2 separate regions of the Homo sapiens genome follow, and region 2 is linked to region 1. Evidence: promoter capture Hi-C in 16 types of primary human blood cells and fetal thymus (Javierre and others, 2016). All regions are on one chromosome and are shown on one strand. The core of a region is centred on a gene start or on the middle of the fragment in contact, and the rest is flanking DNA. Distances in the headings are between cores, read along the strand shown.

What was found. Contacts are between HindIII fragments. The CHiCAGO score rates a contact against its expected background, and 5 or more counts as called.
Region 2: a contact is called between a fragment that was not itself captured here and the fragment with the promoter of STAU2 in region 1, in 3 of 17 cell types (activated CD4 T cells, neutrophils and non-activated CD4 T cells). The highest score is 9.1, in activated CD4 T cells.

What each region holds. Positions count from the first base shown.
Region 1 is chr8:73,743,767-73,751,188 of GRCh38, reverse strand. STAU2 (staufen double-stranded RNA binding protein 2) reads left to right here and starts at 4,349. Exons shown (of 15, transcript NM_001164380.2): 1 at 4,349-4,406. RefSeq lists silencers at 3,847-4,136, 4,217-4,306, 4,597-4,776, 4,887-4,946. The HindIII fragment of the contact is 14,890 bases long and covers 1-6,301 here.
Region 2 is chr8:74,004,628-74,012,049 of GRCh38, reverse strand. LY96 (lymphocyte antigen 96) reads right to left here. Exons shown (of 5, transcript NM_015364.5): 2 at 7,165-7,254; 3 at 1,921-2,049. Among named protein-coding and RNA genes, the nearest start is that of LY96, 17 kb to the right of the region's middle. The HindIII fragment of the contact is 3,733 bases long and covers 648-4,380 here.

The DNA.
Region 1 (7,422 bases), core at 3,100-5,599:
GTGTGTAGTGATAAAAATAAATTCAGGGCCATGCAGTGGCTCATTCCTGTAATGCCAGCACTTTGGGAGGCCGAGGAGGGCAGATAACTTGAGGCCCGGAGTTCAAGACCAGTCTGGGCAACATGGCAAAACAAACTGTCTCTACCAAAAATACAAAAATTAGCCAAGCCTGATGGCACATGCCTGTAATCCCAGCTACTCAGAAGGCTGAGGCATGAGAATCGCTTGCACCCTGCAGGCAGAGGTTGCAGTGAACCAAGATTGTACCACTGTACTCTAACCTGGGCGAGAGCAAGAACTCTGTCTCAAAAAAAGAATTTAAAAAAATTCAGATATCATCAATAAAGGAGGGTAACTTCTATGGTGGGTGCTGGGGGCTAGATGAATTTTACAGGAAAATAAATGTCAAGAAAAGGGCATCATAATATAAGATATAATATAAGAAAGAAGAGGACATAGAAGGAAACTGGAGTTTGTGATTCTGGAATCTGTCCCATTCAAACTGCTCAAATCCGATAATGGTGAATTTGAAAGCATTATCTTTTTCCTGATGCTTGAACATTTCACTGCAATGGTGACTGGTAAAAATGTGTTGATAAAACAGACGCTTTTTAAAAAAAAATTTAATTTTAAATTTATTTTTAATTAAATGGAGGTGGGGTCTCACTTTACTGCCCACGCTGGTTTCAAACCCCTGGTTTCAAGAGATCCTCCCTCTTTGGCTTTTCAAAGTGCTGGGATTACAGGCATGAGCCACTGCGCCTGGCCTCATTTGCTTTAATCAGCTGCCTATTAATAGGCCCACTGTTCTTTATTTATTTATATTTTTTGATACAGGGTCTTTCTTTGTGGCCCTGGCTGGAGTGCAGTAGTGTGATCTCAGCTCACTCCAACCTCTGCCTCCCAGGCTCAAGTGATCCTCCCACCTCAGCCTCCTGAGTAGCTGGGACTACAAGCACGCACCACCACGCCCAGGTAGTTTTTCTAATTTTAGTAGAGATGGGGTTTTTGCCATTTTGCCCAGGCTGGTCTCGAACTCCTGACTTCAGGTGATACGCTAGCCTCCCAAAGTGCTGGGATTATAGACGTGAGCCACCACAGCCGGCTGGCCCACCGCTCTTTAAATATTCATTATTTTCAACTCCTATACAAATATTTTATTTTAAAGTAAATCCTAAAATGATTGTAGAGTGATGTGTGGATTTCCATGTCACTCAGGTGATTTCATGTACTGATACTATATACCTTGAGCAACTGAAAGTGCTGATTCAATTAAAAAACAATTTCCTTTCTGATAATTGTGACTTAGAAAAATTCATTCTATTTGGGGTTTACCAATGACTGAAAATCAGTTATGAGGAACAGTTACGGGAGGGATAAAGTTTTCAATTAACTTTAAGGATCTGAATCAAAGAGAATGAAATCTGACCACCCCAGAGTTCTTTCCAAAAGTATAAACTCATCCATTTATACCAAAGGATTTACCGTCCACCTACTTGCTGTTGGATGCTGGGACTACAGATATGCATGAGACACAGAGCCTGCCCTTCAACAATGCAATGTTTGGTAGATACAGACAGGCTAAAAAAAAAAATTCTAACATACCTACAATATCAGAGAAGAGAGGTACAAGAGAAGAGCACTCGCCTGCTCAGAGGAGTGTTAGAGAATGCCTCTCAAGGAGGTGATTTTTTTTCTTTTTTTTCTTGAGATGGAGTCTTGCTCTGCTGCCCAGGCTAGAGTGCAGTGGCTCGAACTCAGCTCACTGCAACCTCTGCCTCCCGAGTTCAAGCAATTCTCCTGCCTCAGCCTCCCAAGTAGCTGGGATTACAGGTGTGTGCCACCACGCCCAGCTAATTTTTGTATTTTTAGTAGAGATGGAGTTTCACCATGTTGGCCAGGCTGGTCTCAAACTCGTGACCTCGTGGTCTGCCCGCTTCGGCCTCCCGAAGTGCTGAGGTTACAGGTGTGAGCCACCACACCCGGCCAAGAAGGTGATTTTTGAATGCCGTGAAAGATTATTTGTTCACCAGGCGAGAGAAGGGTAGCCTGAAGGGAGAGAGAATAGCCTATGGAAAGACACAGAGGTAGGCAGCTTGACCCTTGGTATGGCTGGTGGGAAAGTAAGGTATTCATTCAAAATATTCAACAATTTCTGGTCAACTTCTTTCAGTCAATGATGGACAGGTGGACTGCATATACAACGGTGGTCCCATAAGATTATACAGTTCTTTAAGCCGGGCGCCTGCAATCCCAGCACTTTGGGAGGCCGAGGTGGTGGGGAGGGGCGGGGGGGGGGGGGGCCGGCGGGGAATCACTTGAGGTCAAGAGTTCGAGACCAGCGTGGCCAACATGGTCAAACCCCGTCTCTACTAAAAATACAAAAATTAGCTGGACGTGGTGGCATGTGCCTGTAATCCCAGCTACCAGGGAGGCTGAGGCAGGAAAATTGCTTGAACTCGGGAGGTGGAGGTTGCAGTGAGCTGAGATTGTGCTACTGCATTTCAGCCTGGGTGACAGAGCGAGACTTCGTCTCAAAAAAAAAAAAGATTATATAGTTCTTTTACTGTAGGTTTTCTGTTTAGGTACAAATACCCTTGTGTTGCAAAATTGCCTACAGTATTAGTACAGTAACACACTGTACAGGTTTGCAGCCTAGGCGCAATAGCTATATACCATATAGCCAAAGCAAGTAGTTGGCTAGACTACCTAGGTTTGCGTAAGAACACGCTATGATGTGCGCAAAACAACAAAAATCGCTTAATGACACGTTCCTCAGAACATATCCTTGTGGCTAGGTAAGGCATGACTGTATTAGAATGCTGACTGGGTGCGTAAGCCGCTAGAAGGAGCACAGCAAATTTAGGGAGGATGCAACATGTTAAATCCGAGGGAACTGGCAGAGGTGAAAAGGGGGGAAAGGAGCATAGGAAAGAGTTCTGGGAGGAAAAATATAGCTGTAGCTAACATTGTACCAGGAGAGGTACTACATACCCGGTCCTATTTAAAGGGCTTCATATGTATTGTCACATTTAAATACGAACTATCTATCACATGTAGTCTCCTCTTGATGCACAGGATAAGTAACATGCCCGTGGTCTCCTCACCAGTTAGCAAGCGGATATCCAGCCTTGGTTATCTGACTCTGGCGCCCTTGCGGTTAACCAGGACACACACTACCTTCCCAGGTGCAGACATGAGATTGGTTTTAGATGATGACTGAAATCACCGGCCTGGGAGACATTTCTCAGTCAGAGAAGTGACACTGGGAAGAAACCCTAGAAATAACGTTGCAAACGAGTAAGTTTGTGAAAACACACTAATAGTTCTATTTCGAAATTTCTTTGTCAGATTATTTTTGGTGCCGGTTACTAAACGAAGTGTTCAGTTTCATTGAGCTTAACTGGGTTGAAGTTATCTAGACAAAAGTAATCCACATCAAAACCAGGACGAATTAAGACGTAATTTCTGTTTTCTGGCACTCTTGCCTCATAAATCTAGGATTCAGGGCATTGTTTTCAATGGTTCTCATTTTTGGCTCCAAGGATTCTTTTTCATGTGACTAATATTTTCGGTAGAAGAGGAGGTCTGGCCACGCCGCGGGTCTTGGCGAGCAGGTGATCACGGATCCCTGGTGTTTGCTGGGCGAGACGGTGAAGCAACCTCCTCCCCGCCCCCTCCCCCGTCTAGAAAGGTGCAAGATCCGCTAAACCGTGCGTTGCACAGCGGCGGCCGGAGCAGACGCGGGATGGTCGCGCGTCCCCTGCACAGCACAGAGGGGCAGCCGGAGAGCCTGGGAAAGGTACGAGCGGGGAATCAGAGCACAGGGTGCGGACCAGAAAGAGCAGACGGTCAGTCGGGCGGGGAAGGAAGTTGCCGAGTTGCAGGTGTGGAAGGGGCTGCCCCAGGCCCACCCTTGGCAGACGAGGGGGCGGGGAGTCGCGCCGGGGACGAGGAGACTGCGGACCGGGCGCGCTCCTTGCGCAGTCGCTCGCCCGCGTGCCCAAGCCCCCCGGGAATGGCCCTCGCCCAGGGGCCCAGCTCGCCGCCGCTAGCCCCGCAGAGCCTGCAGCTGCTGGGGCCCGGCAGCCGCCAGGGGGCGGGAGCTGCGTCGCGAACAATGGCCGCGCTTGGTCGCGGGCCGGCGGGAGGCGGAGTGGAGGTAGAGCCGGTGCCGGGCGCGCGCGCCGGCCGGGCGTGCTGGGGCGCGGGAGCGGCTGCGCAGGCGGGGGCGCGCGGCGCGAGCGCGGGAGGGCGCGGCGGGAGCGCCGGGGAGGCGGGCGGAGGCGGGCGGAGGCGGGGGGCGGGGAGCCCGAGGGGTGGAAGCCGGCGGCGGCCGAGCGGGGTCAGTTCTCTGTAGTGTTTGCCAATGTTGGAGCCGTCTGCAAAGTGTCCCCGGCAAGAAGGTAAATACCCTCATCGGGGGCGTCCGGGAGACCCCGACTTCCGCGCCGCCGGCGAAGAAGGCAGAGGGCGCTGGGGAGCCCTGCAGTTCCGCAGCACGGGGAACCCGGAGAAAAGCAGCCCCCTTCGCGGCCTCCCCTCCCCCGCGCCTTCCCTCCCACATCGGGCTCTCGGGGCAGCAGCGGGGAGGGGAGACCGGCGGGGGAGGGAGGACAGGGAGGCGAAGGAATTGGGGTGGGGGGTGCGTGTGTGGTGGAGGGGGTGGGACGACACAGGTGTCCTGAGGGGAGGAGCCGGGAGGAAGGCGAGGAGGCCGGGCCAAGTGGGGGTGCGGAGGTCGGGGAGACAGGAACGCGGCTGCGGGCGCGGGAGGCTGGGGTTCTAGGGGGCCGGGGTGGTAGCGGCCGGAAGAGAGGACGGCGAGTGCAGCCACGGTGTGGCTGCGAGGGAGAGGGAGCGCCTAGAGTAGGGCAGGGGAGGGCGGCCCGGGGAGGGTCTGCGGGAAATGGGCCTGGGGGCGCTGGAGGCGGAGCGGCGGGGCCGGGGCGCGCCGGAGGGTGGCGGCGGCAGCTATTTCTGTAGAATGGGCTAGTGGTAAAGACGTAACTTGCCGAAATGGGGAGGGTAGGTGGGGCCGAGGGGACAAAATATATCCTATGACAGGCAAGTTCTGCTGTGGCTGTTACGAACTCCTACCGTGATGGCTCGGCTTAAAGGGGTAGTTGGCGGTAGTGACCTTGCCGGGGTGAAGGGAGTTGGGCGAGGAGACAAAGCTCAGTTACGGAATCCGCTGTGTGAGAGCAGGAACTCTAGTCTCTTCGGGGTCGAGCCGGGGGCTGTGGCTTGGGGGCTGGGGGTGCTCCGCAGAGGCCATTGAGAAGCACGCCACTCTGGGATTCTTAGGGAGGCGGTGGGGGTAATGGCCGTGGGATTCTGGAAGTCTTTGGAAATGTGTGTAGAATTTTGCATTTGTGAATAATTTTCTTTGGTAAGGGTCCATATTTGCTGTGATGTCCCCTTACCCCCATCCCCACTCCAAAGGGTTAAGAACTGCTTGAGCAGATAGAGAGGGACCATTCAATTAGGGTAGACCTGGGAATTTACCAAAGGATTTTAAAGTGGGTGGATCCTGCAGAAAGAAAGGCTAGAGATGATCCTTTAAAGATATTTTACTGTTAATTGAAAACGTTTTTTATTTAATGTTTGCTTTCACAATTTTGGTGAACTTTTGCTGAGCATTACTTGGCTTCTGATGCATCCTGTGTTTCAGACCAGCATCGTGAATACTTGAAATCAAAATTGTGATGGACAGGCAGGGTGATAGTAACCTTGGAGGAGAAAAGATTTCAACATTTCTCCAGGATATTTCTTCCCCGTCCTTGCTTTCTTTAGATGATTCAAGTACACTGTTGTGAACTCAGCTGCGGTGGAAAAATCTTATTTAATAAAACTACCAAAACCAAGACTTACTCTCCATCTCTGTTTTGTAGTATGGCCAGATTTTCATTGTTCAGTTTGTATCTTACTGCAAACAAGAGATATCACATAACACTTTAATTGTAGATTGCTGCATTTTGCAGCAGGCCTGTATTAAATTTGCGAAGCAGTTATGCCAAACTATCTGGTGTGTTTGTGTTTTCCTGCTATGGTTTCAAGTCAAGTCACTATTGCCATATTTTATTATATGGTAGGCTAGTCTGAAATTTATTCCTAAGTGATGATAAGTTGGTAGGATATGGTACATACTTGCTCACAAATTACTGCATTTTTCCCCATAAAAACCAGTGTTTTGTATTTGTAAGAATGTTGCTGTGTAATCCAAGTATGTATTGTTAATTTCAAATAAAATGCTGTGTAATTTTTAAATTTTAACTTTATTTGGAAATAATTTCAAGCTTACAGACAAATGGCAAGAATAAGAATAATACAAAGAAAATCTTTGTAACCTTTATTCAGATTCACCTGTTAACATTTTATGTATTTATTATTTGCTCTCTATCACACACAAAATATTTTTCCCCTGGACCATTTAAGGGTAAGTTACATACATTGTGATCCTTAACTCCTAAATACTTGAGCTTGGAAAACCATGCAAATTTTACATTTTAGCTTACTTGGCTTGTCTGGAATGAAGTGCTAGGAAGAGTGGCTTGGTTTGCTTTTCAACAAATAGTATGAATATAAAAAAAATCTAAGATAGTCATCAAGCTTTTAAATATACAAACAATCCAGAAATCGAGGCAGAGCGGTTTTCCTGTTTAGGTTCTAGAAGATATGGTAGGTTTTTTTTTTTTTTTCCTTTGTGCCTACCCTTCTCTTTATTCCTATTATTATCTTGTTTTGTGCACGTTCAGTGCTGGGAATCTGATCATTTATAGGTACAGATCATAATAAAGAGGGAAAACTCTAGATACTGCAAAATTGAATTCTCTTAGACTGCATAGTTTGAGACACGCACAGTATGATTATTCACATATAGATATATTTGTGCCTCTTATAGGTACACAAAATACTAGATGTCTAGAATCAGTAATAATTATCATTTTTATTTATGTGTGCATCGTTTGATTTTAAATAATCCTCCCCAAGTTCTATATAGGAGCTTTGCCATTATGTTGTCCTAGAGGTCAAGCCCTTGACTTTGTTCCAGGAAAAATTATAAGAAGGCAAATCTTTTATTTTTCACCAAGCTGATCATAGAAAATAAAAAAAATTGGCCAGGTGGGGTGGCTCATGCCTGTAATCCCAGCACTTTGGGAGGCCGAGGCAGGTGGATCAGGAGGTCAGGAGTTCGAGACCAGCCTGGCCAACATGGTGAAACCCCGTCTCTACTAAAAATACAAAAATTAGCTGGGTGTGGTGGTGCGCGCCTGTAATCCCAGCTACTCGGGAGGCTGAGGCAGGAGAATCGCTTGAACCCGGGAGGCAGAGGTTGCAGTGAGCTGAGATGGCGCCATTGCACTCCAGCCTGGGTGACAGAGTGAGACTCAGTCTCAAAAAAAAAAAAAAATGTCCGGG
Region 2 (7,422 bases), core at 1,265-3,764, 260 kb before region 1:
AACATCTGTTACTTTTTGTCTTTTTAAGAATAGCCATTCTGGCTGGGGTAAGATGATATCTCATTGCAACTTTAATTTGCTTTTCTCTGATGATTAGTAATATACCTATTGACCATTTCTATCTGTTCTTTTGAAAAGTATCTATAAGTGTCTATTCATGTCCTTTTCCCACTTTTTTTTTTTTTTTTTTTGAGATGGAGTCTCACTCTGTCACCTGGGCTGGAGTGCAATGGCATGGTCTCGCCTCACTGCAACCTCCACCTCCTGGGTTCAAGCGATTCTCCTGCCTCAGCCTCTCAAGTAGCTGGGACTACAGGCGCATGCCACCACACCTGGCTAATTTTTGTAGTTTTAGTAGAGATGGGGTTTCACTATGTTGGCCAGGCTGGTCTCGAACTCCTGACCTCATGATCCACCTGCCTTGGTATCCCAAAGTGCTGGGATTACAGGCGTGAGCCACTGCGCCTAGCCACTCTTCCCACTTTTTAATGGGGTTATTTGTTTTTGTTGTTGCTGTTGAGTTGCTTGAGTTCTTTGTACATTCTGAATATTAGTCCCCTGTTGGATGAATAGTTTGCGAATTTTTTCTCATATACTACAGGTTGTCTGTTCACTCCGTTGATTATTTCTTTTGCTATGCAGAAGCTTTTTGATGTAATTAAATCCCATTTGTCTACTTTTGTCTTTATTGCCTGTGCTTTTGAGATCTTTGTCATAAATTCTTTGCCTAGACCAATGTCCAGAAGAATCTTTCCTAGGTTTCTTCTAGTATGTTTGTAATTGCAGATCTTATGCTTAAGTTGTTCATCCATCTTGAGTTGATTTTTGTATGTGGTGAGAGCTAGGGGTCCAGTTTTATTCTTCTGCATATGGCAATCCAGTTTTCCCCAGAGTAACTTTCTGAGGAAGGAGATCCTACCATTCAACTTCAGATAACCAGAACGTAAATCACGATTTGCTCAAATTAGGTTCAATAGATGTTTATGGAAGAAAGTGGGAGGAGGGAGAGAAGAAGTAGACAAGCTGATTTGAGTCTGACACCTCTGAGGTCTCAAGAAAGAGAAACTTTGAAGATTCAGGTAAAATATCAATGTAATTCCACAGAGATTGTGTAAAAGAAATGCACAATTAAAAAAAAAAACAGTAATCTGCTAAGGGATTTTTTTTTTCCAAAGAGAAAGCATGACACAGTAGGAGAGTCATGTCTTAGAGTTAGGATGCTGCTCTGTTACTAGTTCTCCAAATGACCATGGACACATTACTAAGCCACTGCAAACATCAGTTCCCTCATTATAAAGATGACAGGACTGGAAAATTCATAACAAAAGAAGGATTCTTATTCTGAACACTGTACTAGGCTTTTTTTTTTAACATACATTCTCAAATTTAATTCTTAAAACTATGTATGATGTGTTTTACTTTCCCATTTTATAGCTGAGGAAAATGAGGCCAAGAAAGGTTAAATATTAATAACATGCCAAAAGTCACATTGCTGGTAAATGGAAAAGCTGGAATATAGCTCTAAAGTGGTAATTCCTTTTTTTTATTCATTTTTATTTTTTATTTTTTTATCCCTTGGTGCAAGATCTCTGTAAGGGTCCTAATTTCTGAATGTTATTATTCTGTAAATAATTCCAAGGAGGAACATAAAGGCAGAAGTCACTAAAGAAACCAAGGACTGTATAGAAAATCTGGTGGGTTACTATGAAAAATATTAATAATACAAATCATGTAAGTGTCATCCTAACAGTTCAAGTATATAGTTATAAAATGTTATTTAAGCTGCTAAAGTAAAAACTTTGGATGGAAAAAGAATTATTAGCAGAAAAGGAACTTCCCATTTTCAATGTATTTAATTTTCATAACATTTTCATAAAGAATTATTTCCTATTCTAAAAGTAATATGAACTGAATACTTACCTCCCTTCAGAGCTCTGCAAAAAGAGTAATCGTCATCAGATCCTCGGCAAATAACTTCTTTGCGCTTTGGAAGATTCATGGTGTTGACAGTTATATAGAGATTGAAATATAATTGCTTTAAATCTCTCCCTTTAAAAGAAAAAATCCCATTAGGCCCTCAAATAGTAGATTCTTTTATACATAGTAATTAACATTTATTGTATAGTTAAAAGGGGCCCTGTGCTTTTCTTACATTATTTCATTTAATCATCACAACTATCTACAAGATGTCAATTATTACTCTTCTTCTGCAGATGAGAAAACTGAAGTTCTGAGAGGGCAACTAGTAAATCATAATCAAATACAATGTTCCACAGTAAAACTATGCATGCTCTGCCTAAAAACAGAAGAGCCTTCATAACTTCATTGAGAAAACTATCAAATAAAGACATAAAATGTCTAGTTCTATGGTTCTGCTAGAAAATTCAAAAGAAAAGAAAAGGAAAGGAAGGACAGTGAGACAGTCAACTTTCTAGGAGTTCTGATGAAAGATTTCTTGAGAATAAAATAGAATCTTTTGATGAAAAATTAAATGTATGCCTATTTTTTAATTTCCTCATGATCTCCCTATTTCCAGCTACCATGAAAAATTCCAGTAATCAATGCATTTTTCTCAACTCTTCCAACTTATTCAGTTGGCCCAAATGAAAAAGATGCACAATCCTTTTCTTTCTTTTCTTTTCTTTTCTTCTTTTTTTTTTTTTTTTTTTTTTTTTGAGAAAGACTGGAGTGCAGTGGCGTAATCTTGGCTCACTGCAACCTCCGCTGCCCAGGTTCAAGCAATTCTTCTGCCTCAGCCGCTGGAGTAGCTGGGATTACAGGCGCCTACCACCGTGCCCAGCTAATTTTTGTATTTTTAGTAGAGATGGGGTTTCACCATCTTGGCCAGGCTGGTCTTGAACTCCTGACCTCGTGATCCACCCACCTCAGCCTCCCAAAGTACTGGGATTACAGGCATGAGCCACCATGCCTGGCCAAAAAAGATGCACAATCCTTTTCATAAAGAAAACAATTTTGCAACCACTACCTCACTGAAAATATTTTCCTAGTAAGATCACCATGACTCATTGTAACCATAATCAAAAGACAACTTTTCTAACTTTAATTTGAACTTGGCTATGCTTAACAGAACTGCCTGCTCCTTTCCCTAAACCTTCTTTGGTGTTGGTGCAACCACTCCCTTCCAGGTGTCCTCCAATCTCTCTGACTCCTCTTCCTCAGTCTATTTCATCGACTCCTGGATTTCTCCAGGATCTATCCTCAGTTCTCCTTAGTTTTCACTCTGCACACTCTCTCAGGCCAAGTACCACATAAGGTGACAATTCTCAAGTCAACTTTAGTCTCAACCTTTCTCCTGAGCATTGATCCCATGTATTTATTCAATATCTCTACTCAAATGTTGCCCAGTTACCTCACCCAACAGATCTAAAAGTGATTTCCTCCTCTTCATCACCAAGTTGGCACTAGAATTCCCAGTCCCAGTAAATCTTTCTAACCTCCTTTTCATCCCCATTACCGCGCTGCCTTCATGTAGGCCCTCATTGCTCTGAACCTGAAGCACCACCAACTTTCCTAATTTGTCTTCACTTCTCAACTTTCAGGGTAGGGTGTGGAGAAGAATATCATGGCGTCTGTTTCAAACAGTGATCCCATGGCCTACTCCATGGACTTGGGCTTGAACTTCTCCAAAAGCAGTGCTGTGTGTAGAAGTTGAAAGACCATTTTCATAAGGAATTCCTGGAGACACAGAAGCACAAGACAGCACCACTGTGGTGTCCAGTGACAATGCAGGGCAAAGGACCTTCTTCCATTTCTTCGTGAAACACAGCAAGATTCCAGTCTTCAATAACTCCAGGAAAGGAAGTCCTGCTTTGACAACTCAATAGTTTAAGTTGTGAGAAACTCCTTGTCCTTGGACACCACTGTGGTCACGTTAAGAACATGAACGATGGCAACAATGAGACACCACTTTTGTGGCTCAGCAGGCTGGGGATGTCAATATGGGTGTTGGAGTGAGAGACAAGAAACATGGGCTGGGCGCGGTGGCTCACGCCTGTAATCCTAGCACTTTGAGAGGCCAAGGCGGGCAGATCTCCTGAGGTCAGGAGTTCGAGACCATCCTGGCCAACATGGCGAAACCCTGTCTCTGCTAAAAATACAAAAATTAGCTGGGTGCAGTGGCAGGCGCCTGTAATCCCAGCTACCAGGGGTGCTGAGGCAGGAGAATCGTTGGAACCCAGGAGGCAAAGGCTGCAGTGCGCCGAGATCACGCCACTGCACTCCAGCCTGGGTGACAGAGTGAGACTCCATCTCAAAAAAAGAAAAGAAACATGGAGGCTGTCATGTGGTATAAAAGAGGACTATTTTTTAGCTTACCAAAGACAATTCCAGGAACTTCCAGAAATAACCTTGAAGGAAGCTTATGCTCCAGTTTGATTTGTCAATCAGTTAATAATATACAAATAATTTACTAGCAAGGCTATGACATCTCAAAAGATATCATTTCCATTCTCAACCTATTTTTGGTTCAAGTTTGTACTTGTATCTCTTCCTGAATTCAAGTAGAAATGAGGCCATAAAAATAAGGTTGATTTCCATGAATGTGGCCTCACACTTTATACCAACATTATAGTATATTCTATGGAAACATAATTGCGCTATAAAAATATGACTGAATAATTATTTTGTTAATGAATTAATATAATTTGTTATATAAATGTCATATTTAGTGAGAAATTATAAAACACTTGTGATGGCCATTGAGGTATGTCCCTCAAATTTCCCTTCAAAAGCAGCTGCTGTGAGAAGAGTAGCTGGCAGACAGCCTGCAGCTGCCATACCTTCACATCTATCTCAGCACTCAGCCAGAGGCCACCCTCTCGTAGGCTGCTCCTATAATGATCCAGCACTGCAAGGACCCTAGAGCCAGGCTACTCCCGCCTGTCATGGGTCTCTTACAACAGGCATTCTGCTCTGGGGCTTCCTATTTGGCCCAGCCCAAGAGTGTCTCAGGGATGCATTCTGGTCTGAGGATTATCCTACTTAATTCTCCTTCCTCCCTACTCTCTTTTCAAAGGTATCAGACCTGCACCCCAATCTGAATTTTCTCCTAGCCTACTCTGGCTTCCTCTCCCCTTTACTGTTCACAAGCGTTTCCTCCAAGAAATCTCTAGCCTAATTCCTTCTTAGTGTCTGCTTTTCAGAGAACTCTAAATGATTTCGTACTGTCTTATTATCTTGGCCTGGAAAGATACAACCTGTTTCCTGCGAGTAAGGGCAAGGGATTCACTTGAAAGTGAGATTATTCATTATGTAAATCATCCTTTATGCCAATTGTGTAGGGGTAAAACCTGCCAACAGACCAGAAAACAGAACCTAGGAAAAAAGAAGAAACTGTAGAGCCTTAGCCAAGCAAAACTTTAGATTATTTATTTTATCTTTGGCCAGGAAAGTGAAGGAAATAGAGTTAATCATCCTTTGCTCTGTGCTGTCACTAAGCCCTGTTGCTGTCACTTCACTTATACCATACTATCTGCAGTTCTGTCTCTCCTATTGCACTGATGGATTCCTGAAGATCAGGAGAATGTCTTATTGGCTGGGCACGGTGGCTCGCGCCTGTAATCCCAGCACTTTGGGAGGCCTAGGCGGGTGGATCACTTGAGGTTAGGAGTTCAAGACCAGCCTGGTCAGCATGGTGAAACCCCTTCTCTACTAAAAATACAAAAATTAGCCAGGCATGGTGGTGGGTGCCTATAATCCCAGCTACCCGGGAGGCTGAGGCAGGAGAATGGATTGAACCCGGGAGGCAGAGGCTGCAGTGAGCCGACGAGATCATGCCACTGTACTCCAGCCTGGGCAACAGACAGAGACTCCATCTCAAAAGAAAAAAAGAGAGAGAGAGAGAATATCTTATCAATGAATTCACAGTGCCTAGCATGATACTTACAATTTACTAAGCATCTTTTTAGTGAATAAATGAATGCAGATACAGAGTGTCAAAAAAACAGGTTGAACAACTAGAATCATGAAAATTAAAACACAAGTTTGTTGTCTATCATTCCTGGGTTCTCAGTTTTGGGGATTTTGTTGTTGTTGTTTTTCATTTTTCTGGTAAGCCAGAGAACTAAAATCGGGGGAAAATGTTTAAGCTTATTCATGTAAAACTACTCTGTAAAGTATTAATCTAAAACAAGCTCCAAATCTAAACTAGGATGTAAATTATGTGATAATGATGATGATAAAGATTAAAACTAAAGTTTTCTGGGATTCCAGAGCTTACAGGCAATAAACAATGTTTGGTAACTGGTAGGAGAGGAAAAAGTTTTGTGTCTGCACAGAGACTGAGATACAGCCCCATGCTATCACCCCACCTGCGTTAGTTTTTTCTAAGCTGATAACAAGCAAAGTCATAGAGAGGAAAACCAAGACACAACACAAAGCAAAACAAAACACATGGCCTTCTGTCATCCCATTATTACTGTATTTTTCTCTAGAAAGACCATCTTTAAAAAATATTGAAGTCCTGGCTTGCTGACACACAGATCTTTGACTAATGGAAACCCAATATTACTTATAGCTAATGATTGATGAAGGATATACCTGTAAGATTGTTGGACAGCTGAAGTTATTCCCATTTCTACCCACATGTTCTTGTGTAATCCTCTCCCAGTAGTATGGGCTAGCCTAGTGACTTGCTTCTAACCAATAGAACACAGCAAAGATGATGGAGTGTTACTTCCATGATTATGCTATATAAGATTGTGACTTGCCTAGTTAGCTGACTGTCCCCCTCGCTGGCTTTGAAAAAGCAAGCAGCCATACTGAAAATGCCCATGTGGTAAGGAACTGACGGGTGGCCAACAGCCAGCAAGGGACTGAATACTAACAACTGAATACTGACAACAGCTACGTGAGCTTAGAAGTATATATTTCCTAGTTGAGCCTCAGAAGGGACTCCAGCCTGGCAAACACCTTGATTGTAGCCTTATGGGAGACCTTGAAGCAGACACAGGTAAGCTATGCCCAGAATACTGATCAACAAAGATGATGAGATAATAAATGTGTGCTGTGTTAAGCCACAAAGATCGTGGTAATTTGTTACGTAGCAATAGATAACGAATACAAGTATATTTGAAACACAATCATTTATCACTGATATTTCTTAACTCCTTTGATTGGTCTATAAAAGCAAAAATTTGAACTTACTTGGAATGTAGAAAATGTGCAATAATCCTTTGGATCTTTTCAATTCTATACAGGGGTTAACATTAATTGAAATTGGGTATTGCATTTTATCTAAAAGCAATAAAGATAATGTCAATAAATTACTACAAATCATCTCCATTAAGTATAGTATTCTGAATATCAGCCTTTTAAGATGAATCTTGCATTAAAATTATAAAATAAGAAAAATTGATGATGATTGAAAATATCTCCCCAGAAGAATGACATCAGCAATGTGGC